Regions from separate parts of the Homo sapiens genome. Here region 2 is linked to region 1. Evidence: promoter capture Hi-C in 16 types of primary human blood cells and fetal thymus (Javierre and others, 2016). All regions are on one chromosome and are shown on one strand. The core of a region is centred on a gene start or on the middle of the fragment in contact, and the rest is flanking DNA. Distances in the headings are between cores, read along the strand shown.

Region 1 (4,176 bases), core at 598-3,097:
GGAGTTTTGCTCTTGTTGCCCAGGCTGGAGTGCAATGGCCTGATCTCCGCTCACTGCAACCTCTGCCTCCCGGGTTCAAGCGATTCTCCTGCCTCAGTCTCCTGAGTAGCTGGGATTAAACAGGCATGCGCCACTACACCCGGCTAATTTTGTATTATCAGTAGAGACAGGGTTTCTCCATGTTGGTCAGGATGGTCTCGAACTCCCCACCTCAGGTGATCCGCCTGCCTCGGCCTCCCAAAGTGCTGGGATTACAGGCGTGAGCCACTGTGCCTGGCAAAAATCTACAGGTTTTCTACTGTCAATTTGCATCAAGGCCAGACTACTTTGTCTGGCTTCCCAAGTCTTCCATAACCCTATCATAGTTTACTTATGCAGCCTTATCTCAAAAGTAGTACCTTTTGTTCCAGTCTGTTTTCCAAGGTACTTCAGGTCTTCATGCTTTTGTGCAAGCTGCTCTTTCTTAATATCTCCCTCCCCAGTCCCCATCTAAATCCAGCGTATCTTCAGGACAAGGCTCGTAAGTTCTACCTCCCACATAATGTTTTTTTCTGTTCATTGGAACTCACCAATATCTCCCTAGTAGTTATTTGTCAGAGCTATGTAGTATAAGCTCTAATTTGTTTAATTACTGAGCATCTTCATTGCCATATCCATTCAATTTAATTCCAGAAACATTTTTGAGCCCCTGTGCCAAGAACAGGGCTAGGTAGCAATGAGGGTCACTTTTATGCAGGGACAGGGGCTAGAAATTGGCCTTACTAAGAAGTGTAAGACCGACTCTTGCTCATTGCCTTTCTTAGCATCTGCTTCATCGCAGGCAAGGACTGTGTTTATTTGGCTTGCATAAGCCCCATATTAGAACTTCCTCATAATATACAACATGCCAAATCATCGAAACTGCGTCACCCGGAGTTCAAACTTCATGAGCCTGGATTAGGGTCTGGGTTCCAATGAAAAGTGTTTTCTTTAGTTCTCTTTCTCTTGCATTAAGGATCACTATTTACACAGCTTCTTGTTAAAGTATCACCGCCTAGTACTTGGGTTCCTGGTCACACTTTCCCCCTTATGGAAGGGCTTACTGCCAGGTCTTTCAGACTCTGGAGCCAGACTGCTTTGGATTTAAATCTCAACTCCTCCACTAGTAGTTCTGTAATCTGGTCAGGTTACTTAACTCCTCTATGCCTCACTTTCCTCCCCTGTGTAATGAGGATAACAATATCATAAGGTTGGGGAAAGGGTTAAATGAGCTAACAGTTCGTTTAACAGAGTAATCACTCAATGAAATGTTATCCCCTAATACATGTCACTACTAGATTATTTCTCGCCCTTAAAATGTAAGAGACCGTTTTTCCTCTTTTCTTCCATCCGTGTCTCCAGCTTCTAAACTGCAGGCGAATAAACCTCGAATGAGTAAATGAACCCACCCAGTCGCTAGTTATTTCTGCATTTCCAATGTTGTGCCAGCAAGAGCAAAGGCAAATGGGCAAGTCAAAGTAGGCTTCTTGTAAAAGGTCTTCCATTACTGGGTTTTACTAGAGGCCCTTGCGGACCATCACATCTCAAAAGGGGGGAAAGCTCGTATGAGGCAGTGCCAGCTACCTTTCGGGAATCACCTTGGGCAGAAGGCCTTTTTGCAAAAAGACTCGGCAGCCCGGGCCCCGTAGGTTCGGCGCATGCGCAGCGCGCTCGGCGCCCGGGTTCCTTCCTCCGCGCCACCCGGAAGCCTCGGCGCGACCCAGTCCCCCTCCCCCTCCCCTCGCCGGCTAGGGTGGTGCGTGCCGGCAGGCCGGTCAAGGAGGCGGGACACGTCGGCGCTACCACCGCCACCGCCGCCGCCGCCCCTCCTCCCGTTCCAGCTGCCGCTGCCGCTTCCTGGGCTGAGTCCGCCCGCGGTCCCGGCGGCGCCAGGTGCGTTCACTCTGCCCGGCTCCAGCCAGCGTCCGCCGCCGCCGTAGCTGCCCCAGGCTCCCCGCCCCGCTGCCGAGATGGCGACGCGCTCCTGTCGGGAGAAGGCTCAGAAGCTGAACGAGCAGCACCAGCTCATCCTATCCAAGCTTCTGAGGGAGGAGGACAACAAGTACTGCGCCGACTGCGAGGCCAAAGGTAGCTTGGACGTCGTCGCTGCCCACGGTCGGGGCCTCTTGCGACCGGTGACCTTCCCGCCGCTGCGGCGCTCGGGGCCCGAGCGGACGCCTCGGCTTCGCTGGCCGGCTCCTGCCCTGACTGGAGGGCGGGTGGCTGAGCGGGCGGGCGCGGGGCTCCTGTCGACCCTCAAGTCCGCCAGAGGCGGCGGCGAGGTCAGGCCCGCAGGCCCTGTCAGTGGCCCCAGCCTCCCCTCCTCCCAGACACGGGTTTGAGCAGGTGCCAGGGTAGCGATGCTCGGACCCTCCACAGGGCTGGGGGTAGGAGCGAGGCTGGGAGCGCGGAACCGGGCACGGGTCTGGGCAGAGCTTAGGGTTAGAGAGTTGCCCTCCTAGCTCTGCTCATAGCTATCTCTGTGGGTGGGGCCGCGCTTAGGTCTGGATCCCCTCCTCTACCCTCCGGTGTGACCACGTCCTCCCACTCCGGGCTCGGATTCTTGGTCTCCTAGATGGAGCCCTACCTGCCTGCCCACCTGACAGCTTTTGTACAAGGCTTTTATCTCTGCTTCCTGAAAAAGAGTATGGTGGTCTTTTTCGGTGGGTTTGAGTTTTACGGAATAAATTAATTGGAGAAAGGTCTTTATTAGTAGTAGTATTGTTTTTTAGTCTGGTTATTAGCCAGAATGAAGAGGAATTTCATTACATGAGTCTCTTGGAGGACGGTGGGTTTGTATTTCTGAAGATTTTAGTAATTAGGTTTTCTCTGACCAGCTAGTTTGGGAGAATATGTGGACACTGATTTGTGTACCTCATAAATGCTGAAGGTTCATTTTAAAGATCTAGAGATGGAAAAAACCTAATTTTAGTTTTTTCGGTTGGAGGGCTTCTGCCTCAGCCTTTGAAACAGATATACTATTTTTAGCTGCTATGTTTTGTGTTTGGAGATCTGATTTATGTTTAATGTCTTGTAAGTAATCTCAAGGGAAATATTTCTTTTTTTTTTAAAGAAATGTCTTGTGTAGTTAAGAAAAGATCGTGTATATTTTTAATTGGTTTATTTCGTTATTGGGTGAGAAATAGGGTAGTTCTCTAAAGCAGGAGACAGTCTCTTTGGGGAATGTCCTTTAAGATTTCTGTGTTATTTGACTTAGACTTTTCCTGAAGCTTTACTGTTCTATCTCAATACTATATAAATGAGTCACATTTCAGTAGGCTGATAATATTTGACTAGACTGAGCCACACAGCATCAGCAGGTTACTTCACTGTCGTAACAGGTACTGAATTACTAGAAGAATCATGCGGGAATACTGTAACTAGATTATTTTTATGAAGCACTTTTCAATATAGTAACTTGATTGAGTCAAGATTATATTTATCCTATGTAACCTTTTCAGGTGATGAGTTTTTACAAAGTCCGTGCCTGGTTCTTGTAATACTTGTTTTCCTAGTAACTTGATTGTGTGTGGTTATTTGGGAGTTCTGCACTGTGTTTAGGCTCAGTTGCTTGCTCATTGACTGCACTAGCAAAACACTGAAAAATGGTCCTTTAAAAGGCCAAGAAGAAGAAAGAAGCTGAAGCTAAATAGTACACATTTTGTCATTTTGAGTAATAACATGGTTAAGTAGAGATGCTGGTAAATATTAAATCTGTTCATTAAAAGTCGAATAGTAACAGTTTCAGAATTAACCTTCCTTCATCTACAGACTTTATTAAAAATAATTTAATTTTTGTTCAAATTTCTGTCTCCAAAAAAGTACTTTATAAAATCAGATTTTCACTAATGCTTTCTAAAATAATACAGATTTTTAAAAGCCATTATTAACCATGTTAACTTTTTTTTTTTTTATTTACTCTTTTGAGGTGGGGAGAAGAGAATCATGTACTTCTTAAATTAGGATCAAAAGTTTTACTTCTTTGGACCTGAAGAATAGGAAGTATTCGTTTTGCTCAGTGTTTGTATTGCCACGGAAATCAGTAGATATATATTGAATGAATGTCTTTTGTATTTTGGTTTTGTCTGGCCTTTTGTTGGTTTACTTGTTTTGAGAAGTGAAGGAAGTGGGAGAGAAGAGAATGGTATCAAGAGTACA
Region 2 (4,052 bases), core at 1,036-3,535, 300 kb before region 1:
ATGGTTAAACTGGGATGTTGAAATCCTTTTCTCCAGCAATCTTTAAAAATCAAGTCGTTTCCCAAGAGTAGTGAGATGACTTAAGAAAGGAGAGAGTTGATATGAAGTATCAGGCACGTTTCTGCCCTCTGAACATTATCTGAGATACTGCCGTCATACCTGAAGTGTTTTTTTCCGTAAAGGAAGAGTTCTTTTTAATTGTCCACAGCCGTACATTATTAATCAAACTCTGTCTTTGAATCATAATTCATGCTCAAGCCCCTAGAAGTTAAAAGCGTGAATGAAAATTTATAAAAATTTGAAAACTTCACTCAGGAGGTCATTGAGAGTACATTAAAAGGCATTTAGTTTGTTTAGATGTAATGTATTTTATTATTAGGGCTGATTCACACTCACTGTAATACTCCAGGGGGATTAACCACATTAATCTAATTATGAGAGTTTCACAGCACTCTTAGCAGAAAGACATTCACCAAACTTCAATTATTTTTAGAAGCTCTATCTTTGAATGTGATTTAAAATGTGATTAAGTTCCCTTTTGTGTTATCTAAACTGAATAAAGGCATTGTTTAAGCTTATTCACAGACAAAAGAATAACTTTATTAATTTTTGTTTCCTCATACAGCTTAAATCTAACAATGAAAAATATATGCTTTTATTTATATCTAATTATATTTTTCATTATTCTGTAAACTAAATGCAGGTTTCATATTGGATTGTCTTGAACCCAATAAAGTACAAACATAAAATGGTTTTATTTTCTTCCCTTTCACTGCTTTCGGACTTACTTTGTCAAATCTCCCTTTCCTGACCCCTTACAACATCTTGGGTAGATCCCATAGCTTTCTGGTGACTTCGAATATTAAAAAAATCCAGTTAAGTCTAGGTCGGTTTAATATTTTAGATCTTATACAGTATTCAATTTATATTCATATCCTTGCTTTCCAGACCTCTAGTCAGCTGCATCGTGAAGGATGTGGAGGTACCCAGGCCACTGTGTGTTATTTCACTCTTTCAAAGAGGTAGTGAAGCAGGATATTTCCCTGGCCCCTTCATGGGACTCACAAAGGGGGTGCCTTGTTTCCTCAGCCTGCAGTTCTCAACTCCTCGCAGGAGGGAGCACGCAAGCGAATAAGGTGGGAAATTGTGTGCCCGGGCACTGGAACTAGCCAGCCACTTCAGTGCTGGCAGTGGCAAATTCCACTCACTTGGAGCCACTGCGCTCCACCCCTCGTGGGAAGGCGCATGCAGGTGAGCAGGTGCAGGAGCCAGGGCAAGCACTTTTGGGTGTGAGCAGGAGCAAAGTCTGTGCAGGCCCCAACAGCAACATCTGGGAGGGTACCTGTGACCCCTGAAGTCCCAGAGGGAGTGTTACAGTGCTCTTTTAGTGCTGCTGTCCACAGACAGCTTAAGTGTTAACAGCTCAGTGGACCCTCTACCTTTTGGTGTGAGGCAGCTGCCTTTTGCCAGAGAGGGCAAAGGGTCAGTGTGACAGCCTTTTGTATCTGCACTCGTGGTTCCTGAGTTCTTCTGTGGCGTCCAGGAGGAATGAGGTCACATGAACAAATTGAAGGATTGTAAATGTGGGAAATTTTATTGCCGATGGGCATGGCTGTCAGTGGGAAGGGGAGCTGAAAAGGGGACAGAGCTGGAAGGTAATCTTCTCCTGAAGTCCAGGAGTCTCCAACCAGATTCTTCTCCCAAGTTACACGGTCAAGCTGTCCCTCTGGAATCAAGCCGCTTCTCCCCGACATCCAGCTATAGTCTCTGATGTCCAGCTGCTTCTCCTCTCTCTGTCAGCTGGGTATGAGGTTTTTTATAAGCCCAGGATGGAGGGCAGGGCAGGCAATGAGTGGTTTTGGAAAAGGCAACATTCAAGTGGGAAAACAGGGATGTAAGTTCTCACTTCTGGCTGCGGTTTCAGGCTTTTCAGCTGGAGGGTGGGGCATTTGCCAGGGACCCGCCCTTTCTGCCTAGAATTTCTCTGCCTCCTGCCTCTATCGTTGTATCCATAGGAGCAGAAATATGATATTGAACAAATGGAAATAGTGGCTGAGACCAAAACCAGTAGTGTTCATCAAATTTCCATGTTCTCACCAATGGAATGTAGGGGAGATGAGGTGTCCCTTCTGGTATAGCAGTTAAAATCAAGTGTGACTTCTGCATGTTGACTCTCTCCTAAGGCTAGCTGATTAAACACAAAGCACTCAACTCCAACATGGCAGTGTTAAGCTGGATGCAGCCTGGCCCCTGGGTTGCCGCTGGAAGGGAAGTGGTGTAGGAGAGCTACCAGGCCAGCCTGCAACAGACTGCAATGTAAAGGGAGATATGTCTCTGTTTCATTAAGCCATTGAGAGCTCAGCAGTTTTTTGTTATTATGACATAATCTAGCCTATTGTGATTAAGACAAAAATAGATCTGGAAGTGAGGCACAGGAGGCAAAGAATGGGCTACACTGGAGATATCTAAACAGAGAAAGGAAGAAGAGAGAATGATTGTATGAGAGAATAACAAGTTGTGTGAGCTTGCTTATAAATAGTTGAGAAGGAACCAGTAAAGAAAGAAACAGGCAATGCAAGAAACAGGGGAGCTAATAGACAGATCTGTTCTCATGAAGAGAAGTGAAAGGTTGAGATTAAGGACTCAAATGAAGAGATACATCTTAGAAGGTGTCTTTGCTCAGAGACAAGAGCAAAGGAAAGTGAAATGGGAGAAGAAACCAAAAAACAGAAGGGGGAAATGATTGAAAGTTGCAGAAAATGTAATAAGCCGCAAAAGGGACCATTTTTAGCCACCTTCTGACAGAAGTGTAATCAAAGCAATTTCCAAGTGACTGAGCTTATATTAATCTTCTCTCACACACTTAAATTTATTCGGCTTTATCCCTACAGGCCACATGTAATACCTATTCTTAATTTATGCTAAGCCTGATATCTTCTAAATCTTACATGTTTTTAATGCAGTACTAGACAGAGTTATTCATGCTCCATGCACACTAGCAATATCATAAATTCAGATTTGGAATTACTGAGGTATGAGAGAGCTTACCAACCTGAACTCAACAGAAGTCCAACAGCATTATGCATAGGTTTTACAGAAAGAGATTTTGTTTGAATTGAGCATCAAATAGAAGAAAAAGATACATAGCATTTGAAAAAAAAGGTTTTAAAAACAATTTACAGAAAAATATATTCTGCCTTATATTAAAGAGATGGGAAGAAAATAAGAAAAGGAGGGATAGAGGGAGGAAGGGAAAGTTACCAGTTTAAAATTTTTGTTAAGTTGTAAGATACACTTTCCTTCTACTTCTGCTCCCTCCCACTAAATTCCCAAACCCACAGTGACCAAGTCAGTGGACATGTAGCCATGCAAACTGACTGTTCCCAATAAATCCCTCAACAGATTTGGAAATATTAATTTATTTTATATGTGACAATATCACTCTTTAAAAACAGGTGGTGGGTTTTGTGTCAGTTATCTTATCAACAGATCAGACTTTAGCATCTTCAGGGATCTTATTTCAAGAGTACAGAATAATTATCTATTGGTTTTCATACAGTTAATAATCAAGCCCCTCTCTCCTTCCTTTCGAATATCTCATATCTGCCCACTTCTTTCACTCACACTGTCTCACACTCTATTCAAGCCCCACATCACCTTACACCCAGAATTCCTAGCTCTTTAGAGTTCCCAGCCCCTGTCTAAACTAAACACCTCCTTAAAGCATTATCTTCATCATGTCATTCCCAGATTTAAAAACTTGTAATGCCTCCTCAATGTGTATAACAGGGGATATTTACCTGGCGTTCACAAAAAGGTTTCCAGAGGACTTCTGAAAGCACTGAAATTCTGTGCAATCATTTGTGTGCTGTGAATTATTTTGCTGGTAAAAATATCTAGTTTCTTCAAATCCTTCTTGAGGTCCTACAAAAGGCTGACAATCATCCATCTTTAGGGCAAAAGTTAAGCTCAATGACCAGTATTCAAGAGGTGAGATCAAGCTTGCATTTCACTCTCGTCCCCTAAGTCAGGTCCTTAGGTGGGTAAGTTCT

Evidence for each region. The method cuts DNA at HindIII sites, captures the fragments that hold promoters and counts their contacts. A CHiCAGO score of 5 or more calls a contact.
Region 2: a contact is called between a fragment that was not itself captured here and the fragment with the promoter of SMAP1 in region 1, in 1 of 17 cell types (total CD8 T cells). The highest score is 5.4, in total CD8 T cells.

The regions. Positions count from the first base shown.
Region 1 is chr6:70,666,036-70,670,211 of GRCh38, forward strand. It overlaps SMAP1 (small ArfGAP 1), which reads left to right and starts at 1,848. Exons shown (of 11, transcript NM_001044305.3): 1 at 1,848-2,106. The coding sequence starts at 1,989. RefSeq lists silencers at 1,630-2,029, 2,180-2,409, 2,530-2,589. The HindIII fragment of the contact is 2,958 bases long and covers 1-2,055 here.
Region 2 is chr6:70,362,837-70,366,888 of GRCh38, forward strand. All of the region lies in intron 1 of LOC105377848 (a long non-coding RNA gene), which reads right to left. Among named protein-coding and RNA genes, the nearest start is that of LINC01610, 29 kb to the right of the region's middle. The HindIII fragment of the contact is 3,427 bases long and covers 573-3,999 here.